3 separate regions of the Homo sapiens genome follow, and all the other regions are linked to region 1. Evidence: promoter capture Hi-C in 16 types of primary human blood cells and fetal thymus (Javierre and others, 2016). All regions are on one chromosome and are shown on one strand. Each heading gives the region's core, a stretch centred on a gene start or on the middle of the fragment in contact. The rest is flanking DNA. Distances are from core to core; before and after follow the strand shown.

Region 1 (4,070 bases), core at 677-3,176:
ATAAACAGCTCCTTGCCTATCTGGCTGCCCCAGCCAAGCTGGGTCCTACACAAGTTGCTATAAGAGCTTTCTACAACAAGATCTGAACTACTGAAAGATTCAGATCACTTGACTTTTTAGGTGAGTAACAGTCTATTAAGGCTAAAACTAAGTATTGGCTTGACTTTTTTCACTGATGCTCTTCAGTGAAAAGCACAATGGTTAAATAATGAGGAAAATTGCCCACTCAAATGTTTAGTGGTGCTTACTGATGTATATCATTACTGATTGTGATTCTGGCACATACTAGTCATATCTAACCTTGGCCAAATCATTTCACCTCTCTACGCCTCCATTTCTACCTTTGTAAAATGGAGAGGTGTCTTCCATGTCTACTTCACTGGGTTGCTGTGCAGATCAAAGGGAAAAAAGCATGTGAAAATTCTCAATAGAAAGGTGCAGTCAAAGAGTGTAGTTATTTTGCATGTGTTCACTAGTAAGATTAACATGTGGAAAGAAGATTTTTTGTGGAAGATAAGCAGCATTTTAAAGTCATTCAGAAATGAGGAAAAATACCTTTTCTTCTTTCAATTATCAAATTATAACATTTAAAACCAACTACACTCTTCCCTTGCAGCTGCTCTGTCTACCAAAAGTGAAACCTGAAAACTCCCTCCCACACCAACTCCTACCAACCTTCTACAGTGAAACCAGGACACCCCCACAGTGGCCCAAGTTCTCTATAACTTCTATAGGAACCTAGATGTTGAAGAGTCTGTTCTCTAACTCGTAGTGTCTCTTACAGCCCACACATCTTGAAGATAAATACAGACATACATCACAGACGCACCACTGTAACTGTAGGCATATTATATTTTTGAAGTGCCTAATCATCGAAAGTGACAGAAAGCAATAAACTGTCCTAATCTATGCCACTGGCAATGTGGACCTAAATGAGTTAGCGTTCTTATCTTAAAAAAAAAAATTAAGAGAGAAGAGGCTGGGTGCAGTGGCTCATGCCTGTAATCCCAATGCTTTGGGAGTCTGAGGTGGGAGAATTGCTTGAAGACAGGAGCTCAAGACCAGCATGGACAATATAGCAAGACTCTATCTCTACCAAAAATTTTAAAAATTAGCCAAGCATAGTGGCGCATATCTGTAGTCCTAGACACTCAGGAGGCTGAGTGGGAGGACTGCTTGAGACCTGGAGTTACAGGCTGCAGTGAGCTACGATTGCACCACTGCACTCCAGCCTGGGCAACAGAGCAAGACCCTGTCTCAAAAAAGGGGGTTGGGGAAGAGAATAAGATAAAGAGAACCTAACTGACTTTGATTGCTGCTAGTATGTATTTGATTTATCCTGCCTTGTTCAAAAAACAGGAGGAAATAAGGAAATGGACAGTAAGACAAATTATAGAGATCTGTATATTGTAGTAGGATACAAAGTACAACAAGCAAGACACCGGAAAAAAGGATAATAAAGTAAACTAGATATGGGAGTAACCCATATTTAGCAACCCCCTATATTTATTATTGCAATTGATTTGTATTGCCCCAGAAGAAAGACAAAAAATAAACTCAGGAAGAGCTGAGACCAGGTTTCTCACTGTTCTCCCAAAGAGAATTCAAACTTACCGGCCACTAAGAAGATAGTCAAAATCAACAGTAGCCCTAGGTTAGCAGTTCTCCAAGGGCAGAGCATTTCTGTTTTCTCTTTTTCTGCCCTTCACTCAGTACTTTTCCTCCACACAGGTACAGAAGGAACTGTGCGCATGGTGAGACCCTCTCTGGTCAACTTCTCAGTACAGGATCCTCTTACCCCATCAACAGTGGGGCACTCCCTTCCTTCTAGCCCCTTCCTTCACGTCTATGTGGTTTAGCCTGGTTAGTAACTTGGACGAACAGAAGCTTTTCTCTGGAACTTGACACAGCAATAGATTTCCTGTATGAAGCCCTGAAGCAAAGACGGAGGAAGCAGATTGATTGAATTATCTCTCAGCTCATTGGTTCTCCTCTCACTTCTGCTGTACACAGACAAACTTTACAGTAAGGCATTGAACGTGTCCAAGATAAACAGATTTGTCTAAACTTGCACCAAAAAGTAAAACAGAATATTGATCTACTTTGGCCCATCCTTGTAAATTTCCCAATTATGATGACTTTTAGAGGCTTTCTCCAGGTTGAAGAGCTTTACGGCCTTAGTATTTGAGTCTGGAATACAATATGTTTTCTTGAAAATTATTGTGTGAAATTCCTGTCTATAATGGGAGTCAACACACAACCCTGTAAACATCATATGTGTATTAGTTTCCTATTGCTACTGTAAGAAATTACCACAAACTCAGTGGCTTAACACAACACAACATTTATTATCTTACAGTTCTGGTGATCAGAAGTCTGAAATGGATCTTAGGGGACTAAAATCAAGGTGTTGGAAGGGCTGCACTCCATCTGGAGGCTCGGGCAGAATTTGCTCCCTGCCTTTTCCAGCGATTTGAGAATGCCTGCATTTCTTGGCTTGCAGCTACATCATTCGGACCTCTGGTCCACTGTCACATCTTCTCTGACTGTGACCCTTATGCCTCCCTTTTATAAAGACCTTGTGATTATTTTTGGTCCACCCAAATAATCCAACATGATCTAATTTCAAGATCTTAATTTAATCACATCTGCAAAGTCCTTTTTGCCACACAAGGTAACATTCACAGGTTTCGGTAATTCGGACATAGGTATCTACCTTGTTGGGGGTGAGGGCATTCTGTTTATCAGAACTCAGTACTTATTGCCATTCAGTTTCACCTTTGGAAAATTAGACTGATCATTTTAACCAAATTACAAATAATCACCCATCTCTTAGTTGCCACACATCTGGAATTCAGACTCCCCCTAACCAAAAAAAAAAAACAACAACAACAACAAAAAAACCTCTTCCTTACTGTTGCTAGTTACTATGTTACTATGCTTTTAAGTTATGTCTGAGAGAGGGAAAAATCTTCTATGTGCTGAGAATTTTCTGCCCCAAGGCAAAACTGTACAGGAAGGGGAAGAAAACATTGCAAACAGGAAAAAGATTAAACAGCATGCATTTTTTTTCTCAGTTAGCAGTTTCATCTTCCTTCTTGCCAAACATTATAAATATTTCCCCCCTTCCCCTTCTCAAGCTTTTTTTTCCAGTTAATTAATTTGATGAAGACAGTGAAACCAGATCCTTGAGGGCATGGAACACTTAAGGGTATGAGCTGTGACAATGGGAAGACCAAAACAAAAATGTCTTCTCTTCTGTCTAATGTTTCACCAGGTGTCGGAAAATTAGTGAGAATACATCATTTAAAATACAGATAATATTCTGGTTTTCCACTACATAGAAGTGAAAGTTGGCCGGGAGTAGTGGCTCATGTCTGTAATCTTAGGACACTGGGAGGCCGAGGCGGGCAGATTGCCTGAGCTCAGGAGTTCGAGACCAGCCTGGGCAACATGACAAAACTCCAAACTCCATCTCTACTTAAAAAAAAAAAAAAAAATTAGCCAGGTGTGATGGCACTCATCTGTAGTCCCAGCTACTTGGGAGGCTGAGGCATGAGAATCGCTTGAACCCAGGAGGCAGAGGTTGCAGTGAGCAGAGAGAAGTTAAAGTTAAAATTCACACTCGCTTAGGATACAGATAGACATAGGGTTAAGTCTCTGTTGTGCAATTACTAGTCCAGTGATACTGGGAAAGTTTCTTACTCAAGTCTGTATCTGTTTATATTATATTGACATTAGCTTTTTCTCATGTCATCAAAAATTCTTGGAGATCATTTATTTTAATATCTGCTCAATGACATAGCCAAAACTAAACCACAGAAGGGCTAAATGGCCTGTGGCCTCAAAACAACTTATTGGCACGGCTGGGAATAAAATGTGTTATATTTCGTAGCCCTGTGTTCTTTTCACTCAACTCCTCTACTTTGAAATTTCAGGCAACAACTTTCATAGACACACTCCAATGCACTCACCTGAGGTCAGACCACAATCTGCAATCAGCAGTTTAAGAATCAAGTGATGGGTATCAAAAACCATAAAATTCACTAAATAGATTTGGCAGGATGACA
Region 2 (4,070 bases), core at 1,048-3,547, 180 kb before region 1:
ATTCAACCTCTCATTACTGGGGTTGGTCGGGAGGAATCTTCCCTTCAGGCTTCACCTATAATCTGGGAGACTCAGGCTCCAACTAGAATGTAGGAAATAGAGGGAGAACTGAAGGGAGGCCTTCAGTTCACCCTGATGATGATACATGCTCATTGTCCAGGTTTCATTGTTCCAGGATACTGTAGAGTCTGGTGTCTGTGTAGAATCCCCTGCTGTCTGTGGGCAGAGCCCTGTGCTGGCATCCAGCCACCTTAGCTGCAGCTTTCTTCAGTTTTGTCTCCTCCCTGAGTTTCTTCATGGTGCAGGGAGCACATCCCCCGACTCTCCATGCAGATTTCCATTCACTCCAGTCTTAAAGAATCACCCTTCTCAAAAAACACTTATTTCTCCCCCATCTCCCTAGTACAATCCACTCAAAGGGCTCAGTTATTGGGAACATAAGAGCCAGAAAGACCCATGGTTTATAGTAATTTTTGCTTCCTATGCCCACCACATAAACCTCTCTTGAGGCAAGGGAAAGGCTCAGAGGGCAAAGCTACCTTCCTGGGAGAAGGAAAGGAAAACACAAGGCAAAAAGAAAACAATGATATCTCAACAAAACACTCAAACACATATTTAACAAGTTATTCTGGAAGCAGCAACTACTGCTAAAAGTAGCCCTATTTGAACTCAACAGAATGGGTCCTTTAAAGTGAGTCCTCTAGTTCCTGCGGGCCATACCACAGCCCCTCCCCAGAAAGGCTACACCGGATTGGAACACAATCCACTTGAGAAAAATCTTGAGTTTGGGCATGTTATCCTTGGAGACACATTTCTCGTCATATAGCAACGCTTGTGGAGCTTTCATTTCCCCTCAGCAGAAAATTCCGAACTGAGATGGTCACCTTGAAGGTAACAGCACCCACAACAATCTTGGAATCTCTGATCACAATGTCCTTGCTTCTTTCTAAGGCAGGATTAACCGACCTTCCCTCTTGAGTTCAGTTTCCCTGCCCACTCCAGTCTCCACCCCATAAGAGATGAGACCTGCCTCCCAGGACATGGGCTTAAATGACCTCTGAGAGGTAAACATTGAGAAGACATTTTCCTGCCCTAGACCCTACCCTTCAGGCGCCTGTCAGCAACGATTCTGATGTTAGTGAGCCAAAGGCAGCCCTGTCCTACCTGGCTCCTGCCAGAAGCTGCTGCCTTTGAAAATAGCAGAAAGAGCTTTTTCTGTTAAGAGGAAGCAACAGAACCCCTGGCAACAAGCAGACCTCATACTTCCCTCAAGCCACTTGTTTACAGACGGGCCCAGAGTAGGGAAAATGAGGTCAAGGAGCCGCTTCTGTTTCCCTCTTTACTGGGCCTAGGTGACCTGAGAGATGACCTTCAGAACCAGATACCTTTATCTACTGCCTCGGTGCCTGTGAGACTTGTGATATCAGCAGGGTTCTGCAGAAATCCCTTGTTATCCTTGTAAAGATAACAAGTTAGAAGTCTTTTAAAAGGATATAGATTTTCATGTGCAAACTAAGAGATATATTCTGGAAAAGTGCAAACTATATAGTTTTCATAGGGCATTTTCCTGCATTCACTTTGATCAAATAACCAGCAGCCCAAGTCTTTACTCTCTGTTTTTATACTTCTTTTAGCATCCTCACTTTATAAATGAGGTAAACTGAGGCTCAGAGGGATTAAGTGACTCATTTCAGGTCCCACAGCTAGTAAATGATATAGAATCCCGAGGATTCCAAGCTAAGATTTCTGATTCTCTTTACCCATTTGTAGCCTTTTCAGATGTATATTTCACCAAAGCATGTTTAGGTTTATTTGTTAGTTTAACATAGGTGGCTTAAGACTGAAACTTTCTAACATTAAGAGAGTCTGAATCCCTGTTAGAAAAACCAGACATGTATTTATGAAATTCTAAGCAAATTATGTGTCTCTGGGAGAAACCGGTAGATCACAATTGGCAAAGGAAGTCTAAACCAGTCTCTCTTAATTATGTTACCAAGAGTTGCTTTCTGTGTATAGGTCATTAGTTCGATTTAAGCATTAGTGTGTGCAAAGGGTGTGTTTCTGTGTGTGTGTATTAGAGGTGTCCATGGGATACACAAATAAGCTTCAATATAGAGCAGGATAAAGCCAAAGAATAAGTACATTGTATACAACAGAACAACTAGAGTGTTCTGTAGCTTTGAAAAACATTGTGGCCAAACAAAATGTTCTGCCAGGGGCAACATGGGCTAGGTCTCTATCATCCGAATATGAATGGGTCATATTTTCAGGTTCTGTTGGCCTTTGAGGCCCAACCTAACACACTATGTTCTTGTGTAGCTGAGTTGCCCAACAAAACCAATGGTTGCATTTGAAGATCAAGAAAGAAAAAGTTAACTTTCATTCCCTTTCTCAGAACTGTACCTTCTTTAGAGAAATCCTTAGTCCTCAACAAGTGCCTCTAAAGAGAATAAAATGAAGCGTGCTTCTTCTGAGAAGCTATAGCATTTTGAAAGCTTATTTTCAATTGGATGAGGGTTTCATTACAACCATGTAATAGTAACTACTGTTAATTGAATGTGCAGGTACAATACAGATGTCATCTAATTTAACCACCAAGAAAGGCTCATGACAAAGGCAGCATTTGTCATATTTTCAGATTCAGAAACTGGGGTTTAAATATTTTAAGTAATTTGATCAAAAAGAACCTGTGGAAAATGATGGAGCTTTCTGACCACAAAGCCTTAGCCACTATGCTATATTGCTTCTCAATTTTACACTAGGGAAAGGCTAAATTATCCACACAGGATAGATGGTAGTTAGCACGAGATGACCAAGAACCAAGTTGTGAAGAACTGTCCTTGTAAATTAGAGGACAACTTTAATTTTGATCTTTGCTTTGAAGGGAACTCACCCCAACAAGCACATTCCAGTTTTTAGCTGGTTACATTTGTTTTAAAACATACTGATATCTAAATGCTTTGCTAAAAACACAATTCTTCTCATCTTCTGAAACAAGAGAAAAAAAGTCACATAAAATTATGTCCAAATTATTCACATGTAAAAACTTCGCTTGAGCTGATTACATGATTATTTTGTCCTAAAAGAAAATTACATGGAAGTTCAAATTTATCTGAAATGGAGAACTCTATGGAAGTTTCACTACAAGTACCAGTGACATTGATAATTTTAAATCACAATAGTCTTCATACAAATCCCATTGTAATGTTCTTGAAAAGTAAAAACGATAGCACCAAAAATTGTAAAATAGTGATTTGTTTTGTCTACTTGGCATTGCTAATGCTAAAGTCAAGATACAAAAACAATTACAGATAGGGGAAGTTACTTGCAATGCATACATAGACAAAAAAATTATAGCCTGAATATATAAAGAACACCCACAAATCAATAGGAAACATAAATATGAACAATGACAAATGATAGCACAAGAAAAAAATGGCTTATGAACAAATGAAAAGCCACTCAACCTGACTAATAATCAAAGATATGTATTTTAAAATCATGAGATACTCTTTCGGTCCTTCAGAGTAGCAAAAGATAAAAAGTCTAACAAAACCAAATTGGAGATGATATTAAAAAATAAAACCATTAAAGTGTAGGCCAGGGACTATGGCTCATGCCTGTAATCCCAGTGCTTTGGGAGACCAAAGAAGGAAGATTGCTTGAGGCCAGGAGTGTGAGACCAGACTGGGTGACACAGCAAGGTTCTGTCTCTACAAAATAAAATTAAAGTGTAAATTGACACAGCCAATTAGGAGAACTGGGAGTTACGACATTTTACATCTCACTATGTACATGTTAAGAGTTTTTTTGTTGTTGTTTTGTTTTGTTTTGTTTTTGTTTTTGTTTTTGAGAAGGAGTTTCATTCTTGTTGCCCAAGCTGGAGTGCAATGGCTCCATCTTCACTCACTGCAACCTCCGCCTCCCAGGTTCAAGCGATTCTCCTGCCTCAGCCTCCCAAGTAGCTGGGATTACAGGCATGCACCACCACACCTGGCTAATTTTGTATTTGTAGTAGAGACAGGGTTTCACCATGTTAATCAGGTCAGGCTGGGCTCAAACTCCTGACC
Region 3 (4,070 bases), core at 533-3,032, 140 kb before region 1:
GTTCTGTGTCATCTGCTTTCCACCCATGCATGAACTACTTGAAGCTAGAAAACATTTAGAGAAGAATAAGCGAAATCAATTTTATGTACTCAGAATGGAAACAAGTGTTTCCCCACAGTCTTACTCAACATGAAGACAATTAGTTAACCATAACTAAAATTATACAAAAATCATTGTAAAACAGAAATTAGAAGTTATGCCATCATTAGAGGAAAAAACATGTTAACATCTTGAAAATTATACTTATAAGCAATTGATAATGATTTCTCATTCATGAGATGCTTTGTTTAGTCAACTAGTTTGTATGAGGTAACCATGCCTCCCCCTATTCCTCCTTCCCCAACCAAGGAGATGGGTCCATGTGGGCATCTCACATGAGCTGGTCCAATTATACTCCTTTCTCCAAATGCTGGAGACAGCATCTTTAAATGAAATTTCTCTGCACATTTTTTTTCCTTTTTAACCTAGCTCCTCTAAAAGAGTGAAAGAAATGAACACAAAACTGGAATAATTACTAACCAGGAAGTAGCTCTATAGACACTCTTGTTGCTACTCAAATGTGCCTATCATAAGGTCATGGTAGACACATTGTGGCCCTCCCAGTGACATGAACTCCCAACAGTCACTGTGCCATTGCCCCAATATTCTTGGTTGGTGACACAATCCCCCTGCGGGGTCCAGGAGATCTGTGCAGCTGGCTTTGCTGCAACTGTCTTACACACCACAGCTCTATGCCTGCTTAGAAACAGGGTCACTTCGGGGGAACTGCAGAAAGGTAAGGAAAAAGTGCTTCAATCTTAACATAAAGAATATGAAATTTAGAGAGACATTTGTTTCAGTCCAAATCTGATGATGTGCAATGCTACAATATATGATGTTCCTTTCCTAACACTTGGTATGGTTAGGATTAGGTACTTCAGTGATGGCCTAGGGGAATGAATGTTGCAGTAATTCTCAAAGCGTGGTTTTCAGATGGCTAGGGATAGCCAAGACCCTTTCAGTGGACATCATCATGGGTGATATCCATGATGGAAATTCCCATCAGGTGTTACCATTATTCACCTGTAATACCCATAATGAGTGAGGACAATGGGATCAACCCAAAGGGAAAGATTCCAGTCAGGACTGGAGGCCTACGTTATACTCTTGTCATTGCAGTTTTTTTTTTTTTTTTTTTTGCATTGTCTCATTTCTCTCTTTCCTGTAGGCTTTGATGCAGGAAGAATTGTTTCTGATGAGTATTTCCCATGCTGTTACCATCACACTTGTCAATAGGATGGGATGGCAACAGAGCATAGCCTTTGTATCCATTAGTAAAGACAGTGAAGTGCTAACTGGACACAACAAGAAAACGAAAATGATAAAAATTTCTACATGCCAATTTCTTCTATTGGGTCTCATTTAAAGTCCCATAAAACCCTTCTTTTTCTTAATAAGTATTTTACCCACCCTGGATGTAAAAAAGTGGTTGGAGAGGAGAGAGGAGAGATATTTTTGTGTTCATTTCTTTCACTCTTTTAGAGGAGTTAGGTTAAAAAGGAAAAAAAAAAAAGTGCAGAGAAATTTCATTTAAAGTTGCTGTCTCCAGCATTTGGAGAAAGGAGTATAATTGGACCAGCTCATGTGAGATATCCACACGGACCCATCTCCTTGGTTGGGGAAGGAGGAATAGGGGGGAGGCATGGTTACCTCATACAAACTAGTTGACTAAACAAAGCATCTCATGAATGAGAAATCACTATTAGTTGCTTATAAGTATAATTTTTAAGATGTTAACATGTTTTTTCCTCTAATGATGGCATAACGTTTAATTTCTGTTTTACAATGATTTTTGTATAATTTTAGTTATGGTTAACTAATTGTCTTCAGCTTGCAACTCAAACATTTGATATAAATGCATTTCCTCAGGATAATCACCATGATTTGGTATGCAACAAAAATGTGTTAAATGTATTTCCAATTCCATCATGTAGAATACTTAAAAGATACTGTATATAAGGCTTCAGATTTAATACATTAATTATTTTTACTGAATCATCAAAGACATTCTTAGGCAATGTGTACGTGTGTGCATGAGTGAGTGAAGAATACAATGACTATTGGTACAGCTTGGTGCCTCTTATAGGTTGAATTGTATATCTGAAAATTTACATGTTGAAGTCCTAACCCTCAGAGATGTGATCTTATTTGAAAATAAAATCATTACAAGTATAACTAGCTAAGGTAAAGTCATACTTGAGCGGCATGAGCCCCTAACGCAATACAATTGGTGTTTTCATAAAAAGAGCAAATTGGACACAGATATGGACACAGGGAAAGCACCATGTAAAAATTGGAGGTATGCTGCACAAGCCAGGAAATACCAGAAGCTGGGAGAAGGGCTTGAAACAGATCCTTTCGTAGTGCCTTCAGAGGGAGAATTGCCCTGCCAACACCTTGATCTCGGAGTTTTAGTTTCTAGAACTGTAACACAATAGATTTCCATTGCCTCCACTTCTCACTCCATGGTTCTTTGTTACAACAGCCCTAGCAAACTAATACAGTGCTCTGCACTTCATTCATGCTAAGGCACCAGTAATTTTAAACAACAGTTCAATTGCACTATCAGTGAAAATATCAGTAGAAAGGCAAATAACATCACTGTATTATCATTATTATTATTATTGTAACTCATTTTTACCGAGGTGACCCACTGAAAGGGTCTTGGTTATCCCAGCCATCTGAAAACCACACTTTGAGAACTGTTGCAATAGTTATTCCCCTAGTCCTTCACCAAAGAACCTATGACCATGTGTTTAGGTAACCATAACTGGGGAAAAAGGAATACAAGGATCTTTTGAAGGTTATTTGAATACTAATCTGAATTGATCCTGATACCCAAGAACACAAAGAACATTAAGGGCCTCCTGTTAGAGTAGAAACATATCGGAGTCAGATGATAAAAGAAATCCTGGGCCTGGTTCATATCACAGTGGACCTTCAAAGTCCACAGACTTATACAGTGGTGATTTTTCAGTTGCTGAATATTTAATTAGAATGAACATGCTTAGCAGCTTGCAGACCATCTTGTTGATTCCTTGATCTGTAAAGTAAGTGCTATTATAATAGGAAAGACCAAGATAAATCCCCCAAACCACCCCCCTTGGCGAAGATAGTAAATAAATATTAATACTGAAGACCTAAGTATGAGTCTCCTCTCAGAGACTTAAAGTATACTAAAATAGTGGTCCCCATCATGTCTCTTACTTAATTTACCAGTTAGATCCCTGCAAAACACTGGATGGTGAATTATAGTAGATCAATGCAAAATTACCAAAGTATCAGCCCCAACGGCAGCTACTCTGCCAGATAAGCTATCTTTACTAGAGATACTCCAGTTGCAGTATGTGGTTATTGATCTGGTAAATGCATTATTTTCAACATTCATCAGGAAGGAACATCAAAAATAAGTTTGTATTCCACAGGACAGTAGAGAGTATATAAATATGGTCTTGCCTTAATTTCTACTTTCATGTACAATGTAATCTAAAAAGATCTAGGCTATCTGGGCATTTTGCAAAGACCATCATATTGGTCTACTATATTGATGACATCATATCAATTAGATCTTCTGAGCAAAAAGTGAGAGTTATTATGAATACCTTAGTTAATCACATGCATTCCAGAGGTGAGAAGTCAATTCTACAAAGATTCAGGGCCTGACACATTAGTGAAGTTTCTAGTAGGCCAGTGGTCTGGACCCTACCATATATCCCCTCTCGAAAAAAGGACAAATTATTTAACCTTACTTCCTACCACTGAGTAGCACAACACTTGGTTTTGGAGGCAGCCTGCTGCATATTTGCGATTACTGCTCTGACCCTCTAATAGGATGCTAGTCCAAGTGTGCTCCAGACCAAGAAAGGAATCTGTAACAGGTCCATGCTACAGTATACCAGCCCTGACAATAAGTTCATAAAATCAGGCAGATCTGTGATACAAGAAGATTCTGTGATAAAGATGAAATGTGGAGCCTCAGACAAGTCCAGTAGGACAGTCACAGTGCAGGCCTAGGGTTCTGGGGGTAAATC

Evidence for each region. Contacts are between HindIII fragments. The CHiCAGO score rates a contact against its expected background, and 5 or more counts as called.
Region 2: a contact is called between a fragment that was not itself captured here and the fragment with the promoter of CD200R1 in region 1, in 8 of 17 cell types (M1 macrophages, M0 macrophages, M2 macrophages and 5 more). The highest score is 10.9, in M1 macrophages.
Region 3: a fragment that was not itself captured here is called in contact with the fragment with the promoter of CD200R1 in region 1 in 6 of 17 cell types (M1 macrophages, M2 macrophages, M0 macrophages and 3 more); the score reaches 10.9 in M1 macrophages.

The regions. Positions count from the first base shown.
Region 1 is chr3:112,973,177-112,977,246 of GRCh38, forward strand. CD200R1 (CD200 receptor 1) reads right to left here and starts at 1,927. Exons shown (of 8, transcript NM_138806.4): 1 at 1,615-1,927. The coding sequence starts at 1,681. The HindIII fragment of the contact is 1,253 bases long and covers 1,886-3,138 here.
Region 2 is chr3:112,793,682-112,797,751 of GRCh38, forward strand. No RefSeq gene overlaps it. Among named protein-coding and RNA genes, the nearest start is that of CD200R1L-AS1, 6.8 kb to the right of the region's middle. The HindIII fragment of the contact is 391 bases long and covers 2,103-2,493 here.
Region 3 is chr3:112,829,341-112,833,410 of GRCh38, forward strand. It overlaps CD200R1L (CD200 receptor 1 like), which reads right to left. Exons shown (of 8, transcript NM_001199215.3): 4 at 1-44. The coding sequence starts at 27. Among named protein-coding and RNA genes, the nearest start is that of CD200R1L, 15 kb to the right of the region's middle. The HindIII fragment of the contact is 5,298 bases long and covers 1-4,070 here.